2 separate regions of the Homo sapiens genome follow, and region 2 is linked to region 1. Evidence: promoter capture Hi-C in 16 types of primary human blood cells and fetal thymus (Javierre and others, 2016). All regions are on one chromosome and are shown on one strand. The core of a region is centred on a gene start or on the middle of the fragment in contact, and the rest is flanking DNA. Distances in the headings are between cores, read along the strand shown.

Region 1 (4,824 bases), core at 1,163-3,662:
GAACTGAGGGCACAGATGCAGCTGAGCCATAGTTTGCAAAGAGGGAGAAGGTGAAAGGGGCTTCAAGTATTCCAGGTGCTAGCTAGGAATCCAGCAGTTAAACAAAGTCTTTGCGCCACCTTGTGGACATTCCCCATCACTGCAGTACAGTTCAAGAACATTCACTTGATTTTCTCTCCTCATGGACTCCTTGTCTACAAACAAACGGCAATTTTCAAATATAATTAACATGCCCATTGCTGCCATGCAGAGCTAATCAGGCTCGTAAAATTCCAGCCAAAAGTAAAGACGTTGGACATTTTCAGTTCTACAGCTTTACTTTATGCAAATGTACCATTTCTATAGGTGTTTAAAAACTCTTACAATTGCTAAAGGACCTCGATTCTACTTTTGAGAAACCTCATGGAAACAGAAATTCCTATTAGGAATCACAGGTGTGATCCTTCTACCCATGACCTTCTCACACTATTTCAAGGGGGTAAAATACTATCCCTAGAACTAAGGAGAAAAATAAAAACTTAGCCACTCACTAATCTCTTTTCTGATTCAGTCTGCTTTGTTCTTAGGAAGCAAACATCTTTAATCTGTCTAATATAGGGACAGGTCCTAGTTGGGTATTCAGAAAAACACACCGTTTCTTCCTTGAATTTAAGACAATTTTTTAAAACAACATCAATCGTAAAATATTTTAGAGCTGTCTCTTTAAAGACAACTCAATCTACATAATAAATTTTTCCTACTTTTGGAAAAATTGGGAGACTTCCAGAAATGTTTCTAAACACTACTAGAGGTTTGGTGGACTGGAAGCCCAGAGACCTGGTCAAACCTGGCTTTGCCACTAAGCTGCAAGTCGCGTCCACCCATTTCTTGTTTCTTCATTTACAAAATACGTAACAGCCATCCCCGTGGGTGGATTGCTATTTTGTATTTTATAAATGCCTCTCTCATAGAATTGTTATGAAGATACAATGACATGTTAGTTAAAAATTTTTCAAAATCTACAAGATCTATGTAAAAAGCTATTTTGTAGTGGACATCATTCAAAAGATACAACGGCATTTGGTACAAAAGATGGTTTTACAGAGGGATGGGGGCGGGGGAAACGTATAATCAAGCAAGATTAGACTAGTTACAGGTCAGCAATGGGGTTTCAGGAGGAGAAAGCAACTTGGGCACAAATGATGTCTGTAACAAAGGACTCAAAGGCTTAACATAAACCAAGTCTAGTTAATCAGTGAGTCAGCAAACAACCCTTTTCATGTAAGATTTAGGTATAAAAATATTTTGCAAAGGAAACCCTTGCTGCTATTAAATTCCCAAGAAGCACTGAACTCTACTCAAGACTGTAGCAAAAATTGGAAGTCAACTGGGAGTTAACTAGAAAATACAATACATAAGCTGGCACTCATTCGCAACCTGAAGCTAGTTTTCTTATATACTGGCCTGAGCTTGTTTCCTTCCATCCAAGAGACAGAAATGACAATTTGCCACCACCACCTGTGCCACCCAGACCCAGAAGAGACCCAAAACAAACAATACCCATATTAAGCCTGCCATTTGTAAGGTCATACATACTGTAAATGTGCCTCCAATAAAATATTAAGCAGCATCAAGAGGAAAAAATATGTACCTGCTAGAATTAGATAGATATATTTGGTTACATTCCCCTGGTAAGACAAAAAAAGAAACTCCAAAAATAAAACTAGAGGGACAGATCAAGAGACCACGCCCTTAAAAAGTCATGCCGATCAAGTGAAAGAAAGAAACCATGGGAGTTTGATAAACAGGAAATCCGAACCTGAGGGGGGGAAGGAACATGAAAAGTGAGGGAGTCACAAAGTGTGGTAAAGTCAACAAGAATGTGGTCGCCCCCTGTGTTATCTATAGAGCCTCAGCAGATGCTTTTGTGGCAGCACAAACCCTGGAAGACGGTACTTCTCACACTGGGGTACCTGTTCCAGGCCAAAGGGTAGCAGCCTACTAAGTCACAGTAAAACAAGCACCCTCTTTCTAGGCTGTCAATGGTACTTGAAAATTTAGGGTGAGGGTAGGGAGACAACCAGTAAAATAATTTAACTTTCATTAAAACAAATAGATATGGAAATGAACAAAAGCTTTCCCTAAATATAAAGCAAGAGACTTAAAAAAAAATATTACTCCCATATCACTTCAAATGATGTCTCAAGACTCCTGAGGGCATTTTCAATTTCCTCCCCTTTAGGGTTAGTATAATGGAAGTTTGCAAAGTGCTGTTATAAAAGAACACAGATTGTTAAATATTTCTAACATTACCACCATCACTGAGTTCTAAAATCTGAAGCTCACTTTCTTGTCAGACCATTTATAATGTCCAAACCAGAATCTTCAGGTATGTTTCACTTGTCTGGAATCAACCTCTTCTTGAAACAGGAACATCAGAGAAAGCACAGGGATGACCTCAGCTATATAATAAAGGGGGTGATTCTGATTAGAACTGTCAGATGACTCACTTCTGATAAAATCACTGCTACGAATCTTCCCTTAGGCTCATATTCACTCAAGTTCTATGATGATGTGATCCTTTCCTACATATTCTAACAGACATTTCTGCCTGGCTATAAGGAATCCTCCTCTTGGCCCATTTTCTGTTATTTTTGCATGCTAGCAAGTATCACTTGTAACTCCTCTCTCCATCCACACCATCTTTTATTATCTGCTAACCTTAAGCTTTTGTATATGAACAGCACAGCAATTCATTTACTATAAACTTGAGCGCTTCAAAGAGTAACACTGTGAATGACTGGCAATTGTCAGACAGACCCATGTTTGGATACCCTCTTTGACAATTATAAGCTATATGCCTGAGACTTGATCCTTAAAGCCTTGATTTTCTTGTCTATAAAAGAAAATGGTCACTACTTTTTTTGTAAGGGTGTAGTGAAGATTGAATGAGATGCATATATAAAGCTACTTACATACTGCCTGGTATACCTGGCCCTCAAGAAATGCCAGTTCATTTGCTTTACTTCCCCCAAAGTAAAAACACATATATGCTTCATTGCCTGGACAGAAAACTAAATAAACCCTTTTATTGGGTACAACTTCCTAAAATAAGGTTCAGAGTATAGTTGTAAGCAAGCAGTAAATATTAAATGGCTAGATCTGAGAAAACAAAACACTTTCCAAGCACTCTGAATTGCCGTACGTAATTGCAAGACATTGCCTTGAAAGTGGGAATTCATGATTCAAATTATTCGTTGCTTGAGAGAAACAGACCAGTCTCCAGCACTGGGCAATGCTGTGTCCCCTTTCCCAGAATAATTAAAGGACATCATTTTATCTATATTTGTTTTATAATTAATTGCCTACTTTTCAAAGGCCCTGCTTGCTAGAAAATTATCTTGAAGTTCTTGCCTAAACTTTTTAGCTGGTCATTTGAAGTTTCTGCCACCAGGCCCCAAACTTTCCTTTTATTTTTGTCTCCTTCCCTACATGAACGCTCTAACTTAACTGTTTTCTCAGCATATATCCTATCGCTTCTCATCTCTTCACCTTGCCTAGGTAGACCTCCCACATCTCTATTTCTTAACCAAATTCTCCCAAGTTTATAGATACATGTGTGTGTGCATATATATAAAAATTTGGGCCCAATTAAATTCTTGGCAAGAATTTCAAGATAATTTTTCAAATTTATTTTACTAACAAACTATATTTTGCTTTCATCTAACAGATACACCAAAGATTTTTAGGTTTAAAATTCTACCTGAAATAAAGTTTGACTTGAAATATAATGCCAAAACTAATAAAAGCAGTATTATTATGGAGATATTTGTTAGTGAAAAACATAAATATATAAAAGTAGATGTCAGTTTGATATGCTTCTGAGAAAACTGAAAAACCATATGCTCCTCCAGAAATATGGATTCGTGAAGTCAATATTCAACTTTACATATACATACACAATGTACAAACACAGTGAACTGCTTTCCTAATGACCAGTGTCTGTCAATCCCTGTTTTGAAATACAAGAACACAGAAAGCAGAGGAGAAAGGCCTTCTCAACAGTGAGCCACTAAAGGCAATGGAATCCATATACTACGAGCTTTGGGGCTCTCTCCATCCACTACAAAAGGCTAAAAATAAATGTGGTGAACACACCTGACAAACCAAACAGCAGAGCAAGCACTCAAGAATCAATCTGAATTGCTGTCCAGATCTTGGTTTCTAAACATCAATCCCCACTAAAAGGATCCAGTGCTCCTTGGAGAAATGGCCGATGGCCAAGATGAACATGGAACATAGCCTTATACCAGAAAGTAGGAAATGCTAAAAAATGATGAGGATGCATCAAAAGGACACAGGAGACACTGGAAGGAGCTCCCACTGGCTAAATCTGGGGCAATTTGAGCATCAAAATGAACAATCACAGTAAACATTAAAACTCTTTGAATAAAAATAAATCTGTGAGTCTACATTGATAACAAGGAAAAGCTCTAACAGTGGAATGTCAACTAATAAATTAAGGAGTAAGAATTAGAAAGTCATCATTTAGCAACTAACATAGTAATAACTAATTCAGGCAGGAAATATCAATGGATGCTAAAACTATTGAGTGAAAGTTCGAAGACGAAAAAGATGCTTACATCGCCTCAAAGTATTTCCACAGATTACTTATAAATTCCAAAGGGGGAAATGGTGAAAAAACCTGGTAGACACCACCTTAACCAAGTAAAGTTAAAATCATCAATAATCAGACAAACTGATATTATGCACCTCCTGATGCAATGCACTGAGAAGGACACAAGATCACTGCTCCTACATTCTGCCAAAAACATAATGAATCAT
Region 2 (4,824 bases), core at 1,050-3,549, 530 kb before region 1:
GACACAGCGAAGAATTATCCAGATGAAATTTCAAGAATGTTCAGGTTGATAAACTCTGGTCTAGGATTAAAACATGACATTGCCCGCAGTAGCTTTCTTGGAAGCATGGAGGGCAACTCTAATTTATGTTTTTGTTTGTTGGGATTTTTACAATGAACACGCATTAGTTTAAAAAACACCTCATAGACAATGATGGTTCAGATGAAATCAATCCCTGTGGCTTCTCAGGCTGCTTCTATACCTTAGGGACAAATTCCGAAAGTTCCCTGAATCTTCTCTTCAGCAGGTTAATCTAAGACAGCTCTTTCAAAAGTTCTTCATAGGAAATAATTTCAAGTCAGTTCACCAATCTGATTGCTACCTATGAAGAACAAGGTCCTAAGTGCTGAACACCAAACTCTAATTTTGTACTTTGACCAGTGAAAAGTGGAATTATCTATCACCTGCCTCATTCTACGTGCACTGGCTCACATTCAGCCTATTGGAACACTGTTTTTCCAAACCTGCTGCAGTTAATTTACATTTTCTCCATCCCATACTAGTACAATTGCCTTGTAAGTCTTTTTAAAATATATATACTTTATTGCATGCATTTTGGGAGTGGGCAGGCCTGGGAAGGAAGCAAGCAGGGAACACACTGCAGTAATAGGAGTTTTAAGTCTTAATGCAATAAACTGAAAGGCCTGATTAACTACCCTTACTCTCCTAAGATGTACACCACCATAGAGTCTATAATACAATCGGGTTACTTTTTGAGTTATATTTCAGTCCCAAGGAGACATTCTCACTACCTGCCTTGGATGCTGGTGATACTTAAATCCTATCACTAATGCACTGAAAAACACCTAATAGGGTGAGTTTAGACTTATTAATTTCACTCATTTCAACAAACATCCAGTGAGTGCTTAAGACACTGTACTGATCAGTGAGATCAATAAAACCAAGATGTGAACTAATCAGAAGACTTTATGGCCTACCACCTTCTGCTGGGATTACCTTACTGAAGGACCCCTTCATCTAACTACCTTTATCTGACACTTGATTTCAACCCGCAGAACTCCATATAATGCTGTGTTTTATAAAGAAAGCCTAGGTGTTAATTATTTCTACACCCTTTCAATCCCTTTTCCCCTTTGGGGGCCACCCTAAGTGCTAGGTAAATGTTTAATGAATAAATGCACCAAACTGCCACTACCACATACAATATACCTGCAGGCAAACACCTGTAAGAGGGCTTTTATTCCCTGCATCACTGAAAATATTAAGTGGCAATAACTATTTTTTAATATTATTATTATACTTTAAGTTCTAGGATATATGTGCACAACGTGCAGGTTTGTTACATAGGTATACGTGTGCCATGCTGGTTTGCTGTACCCATCAACTCGTCATTTACATTAGGTATTTCTCCTAATGCTATCCCTCCCCTAGCGCCCCCAGCCCCCGACAGGCCCCGGTGTGTGATGTTCCCCGAAGTGGCAGTAACTCTTAAGCGTAACCGCAAACAAAAGTGAATTCACAAAGGCATAAGGCACAAGACACACACGGTAAGATTAGACAACTCTTTACCACATGGACAATAAATTACACAAACAATAAAGACAGATTCAGCGATGCACACTTAAGATGAAGAAATGGTGAAGAGGAACTTAAATACCAAAACAATTAAAATTATAATTTCCCCACGCACATTCTTATGTCACTTAAACCTACCCAGGGGACAGCTCCCACATAAGAGAGGGCTGGGGGCTCCCAAGTGCGGAATCCTCAGCAGAAACCCCGCAGGGCCGTTGGCGCTCCGCCGCCTCGCCACGCCCCCGCACAAGCCGCTCACTCCTCCAACGCCCACCCCCCTGGGAAACCCCTGGAGGCCTCGGCTCCGACGCAGCGAGGGCAGAGCGCTTCGAAGAAAGACAGGGCAAGGGGGAGGCAAGTGGGCGGGGAACGAGCCTATCCCGACCCCGCAAGTCCACTCCTACAGAAGAGCGGCGACAAGCAATCCCGGGCTCAGAATGCCGCCCACGAGGGTCCCGGGCCTGGGCCCCAAGGGCCAAGCAAGCCGACCCCCGCCCCTTCCTCAAGCCGTTAGCGCCGCGGCCCCACCCCTCGTGGCCGGCCGCGCCCCGCCCCGTTCGCCCCATGCCGCTACCCCAGCTGGTCGTGGCGCCGGGCACCTTCTAGCTGGAGTGGGCCCGGAGCTGCCGGCCGCGTCCGGAAGACCGAGGAACCGGGCTTCCATACCTGCACTTTCCTCCGCCCTGCTGTGTTCTGCCGGTGATGGGCCGCCATCTTGCATGTTGACACTCCGACGTCACTTCCGGAGGTGGCTCAGAGCGGGAGGATGTCCTGCCCCTTTCCCTTTGGCCAAGGGTTAGTGGCGGGGCTGAAGGTAAACAGGCTGTTGTGTTTCCTCGGTGCTGTTAGTTGCTGTGTGGCCGGTAGCCATGTGATGAGGTAGATGCACCTAAAAACAAAACCACTGTGCAAGTATAATGCTGATGGGGAGAGAGCCACTTTTCAGGGCTGAGGGAGCAACACGAATTCACTTGTGTGGTCCTAGACCCTGGCTTGCGCTCTTTTCCGCGCCCTCCCCGAGAGGCCCAAGCAAAACGAAAGCACTGAAAGAATTAACAGTGCTAGACATGGCGCTGGACCATCTCCTGACCTTTCCTAGGCAGGCAGGAGAACCAAGTGAACCAAGTGATTTACTGTTAAGTACCTAAAAATGCGGAGAATTATGTCGTGGCCTCAAAGGGGGAGAGATAGAAGTCCTTGCAAAGGAGGTGGCCTCCATCTTCAGGGGGAGCAAAGAATCCGTTTAAATTAAAAGGATAAAAAGTGGGGCCATAAAAGAACGAGATCATGTCCTTTGTAGGGACATGATGGAGCTGGAGGCCCTTATCCTTAAGCAAACTAACAAAGGAACAGAAAACCAAATACCGCACGTTCTCACTTATAAGTGGGAGCTAAATGATGAGAACACATGGACACAAAAGAGGGGGACAACACACACTGGGGCCTTTCGGAGGGTGGAGGGTGGGAGGAGGGCGAGGATCAGGAAAAATAACTAATGGGTACTAGGCTTAATACCTGGGTGACAAAATAGCCTGTACAACAAACACCCGTGACACAAGTTTACCTATATAACAAACCTGCACTTGTACCCCTGAACTTAAAAGTTTAAAAAAAAAAAACAAGACAAAAAGATGTTATAGGAAGGCGAAAACGGTACACCAGCTAAAATTGTTCCCAGAGACAATTCTAGTTTAAATCATCTCTTATACTGGAACAGTTAGGTTTGACTTAAGGTGGTTTTCCTGACCACTAATTATAAGAGCTGAGGGTGATCAGACCCTCTCTAGTGAAAGTGAATCCTATAGAACTACACTGTGGGATATAGCATATGATGTATCTGCTAGTCATTTGTGGCTCTTGAGCACTTGAAATATAGCTAGTTCCAGTTGAGATATGTAATTGTAAACTACCCCCAAATTTCAAAGACTAGTTTGAAGAAAAGAATGTAAAATATCTCATTAATAATTTTTTGTATTGATTTCATGTTGAAATGATGTTTGGGGGTATATTAGGCTAAATAAAATTTATTAATTTTGTCATGGATATTAGAATATTTAAAATTACATATGTGGTCACAAATTTCTGTTGCATAGTGCTAGTATATAAGTAATGCTTAGAAAAGTTGTCTTGACAAATACTTCTTAAATTAATAAAGAAATGTGAATTAGATGAGTAAAAATTGTGATGGCAGAAAGCTTCTTAAGCAAAACTGGCAGTGATAACTTATAGGTAAATTACTGCATCATTACAGGCTTATTCATTCACTGATTCATGTATTCATTCATTTAACAAAATATTATTTAGCATATCATATATGCCAGGCACTATATTAGGTGTTGGGGAATCAGTGGTGAGTGCACATAGTCATAGAACTTAGAGTCCCAGGATGAGACAGGAATTAATACAGAGATAAGTACTATGAAGAAAGATGATTGTAAGACAGGAAGTATCTTGAGTCAAGAGTTAACTAGGCAAGGAGAGGGAACAGTCTGAGCAAAGGTCTTGTAGCAGGAGAGAGCATGGAACATTACAGGAACTGAGAGTCAAGGCTTAGAGTACAGAGAAGTGAAAGGAGTATGCAGAGGCCATACCCAGCAGGATCTTTTAGACCAATGGGAAGCTGTTGAAATACAGGTAGGGAAATAATATGTCTGTATTTTAAAAATTGCTTAAGTGTCTATTGAGCACCTATGATGTGCAAAATACAATACAGGTATGTTGCTCTGGACAATATACTGGTACTTGCTAGAAATTGATATGTTGTAGTCCTGCTTTGGACCTGAAAAATATTGAAATAGTGAAGTTCTTTCAGTGGGCAGAATTTTCACCAGTATGTTTTGATGTTCAGTTTGGCTGAAAGGAGAAATGGTCAATTCAGGGTCAGAGGATAATTTTTTGGCCAGTTTGTGAAGGACATGGAAAGAGCAAGACTGGAGAACTAGTGACAAGGAAGACTCCAGAAGGGATATAGTGATGGACCTCTCAGAATAAATCTTAAGAATCATATGGATGAAATGAACTGCTTTGTGATGAAACTCAGCCTCACTGCCTGCTCAGTAGAATCATGAAATAAATGGCAATGGCAATGGCAACAGGATTGGAGCTATGCATGGGATCACCAAGCCACCGCTGGGTGTTCAGAAGCAGTGACCAATACCCCATGCTCTGGGAGGGTCAGCCAGTCACATGTAGGCAAGTCTATTCCATTGGTCATTGGCCCTCCCCATCATTGAGGGAGTTCTTATTTGT

The links. The method cuts DNA at HindIII sites, captures the fragments that hold promoters and counts their contacts. A CHiCAGO score of 5 or more calls a contact.
Region 2: a contact is called between the fragment with the promoter of WDR48 here and a fragment that was not itself captured in region 1, in 8 of 17 cell types (total CD8 T cells, naive B cells, M1 macrophages and 5 more). The highest score is 8.7, in total CD8 T cells.

Annotation. Positions count from the first base shown.
Region 1 is chr3:38,516,879-38,521,702 of GRCh38, reverse strand. All of the region lies in intron 5 of EXOG (exo/endonuclease G), which reads right to left. Among named protein-coding and RNA genes, the nearest start is that of EXOG, 23 kb to the right of the region's middle. The HindIII fragment of the contact is 592 bases long and covers 2,117-2,708 here.
Region 2 is chr3:39,049,491-39,054,314 of GRCh38, reverse strand. It overlaps WDR48 (WD repeat domain 48), which reads right to left and starts at 2,299. Exons shown (of 19, transcript NM_020839.4): 1 at 2,242-2,299. The coding sequence starts at 2,289. SCN11A (sodium voltage-gated channel alpha subunit 11) reads left to right here and starts at 2,371. Exons shown (of 30, transcript NM_001349253.2): 1 at 2,371-2,454. RefSeq lists a silencer at 2,096-2,195 and enhancers at 2,236-2,425, 2,446-2,495, 2,506-2,595, 2,266-3,138. The HindIII fragment of the contact is 5,994 bases long and covers 1-3,772 here.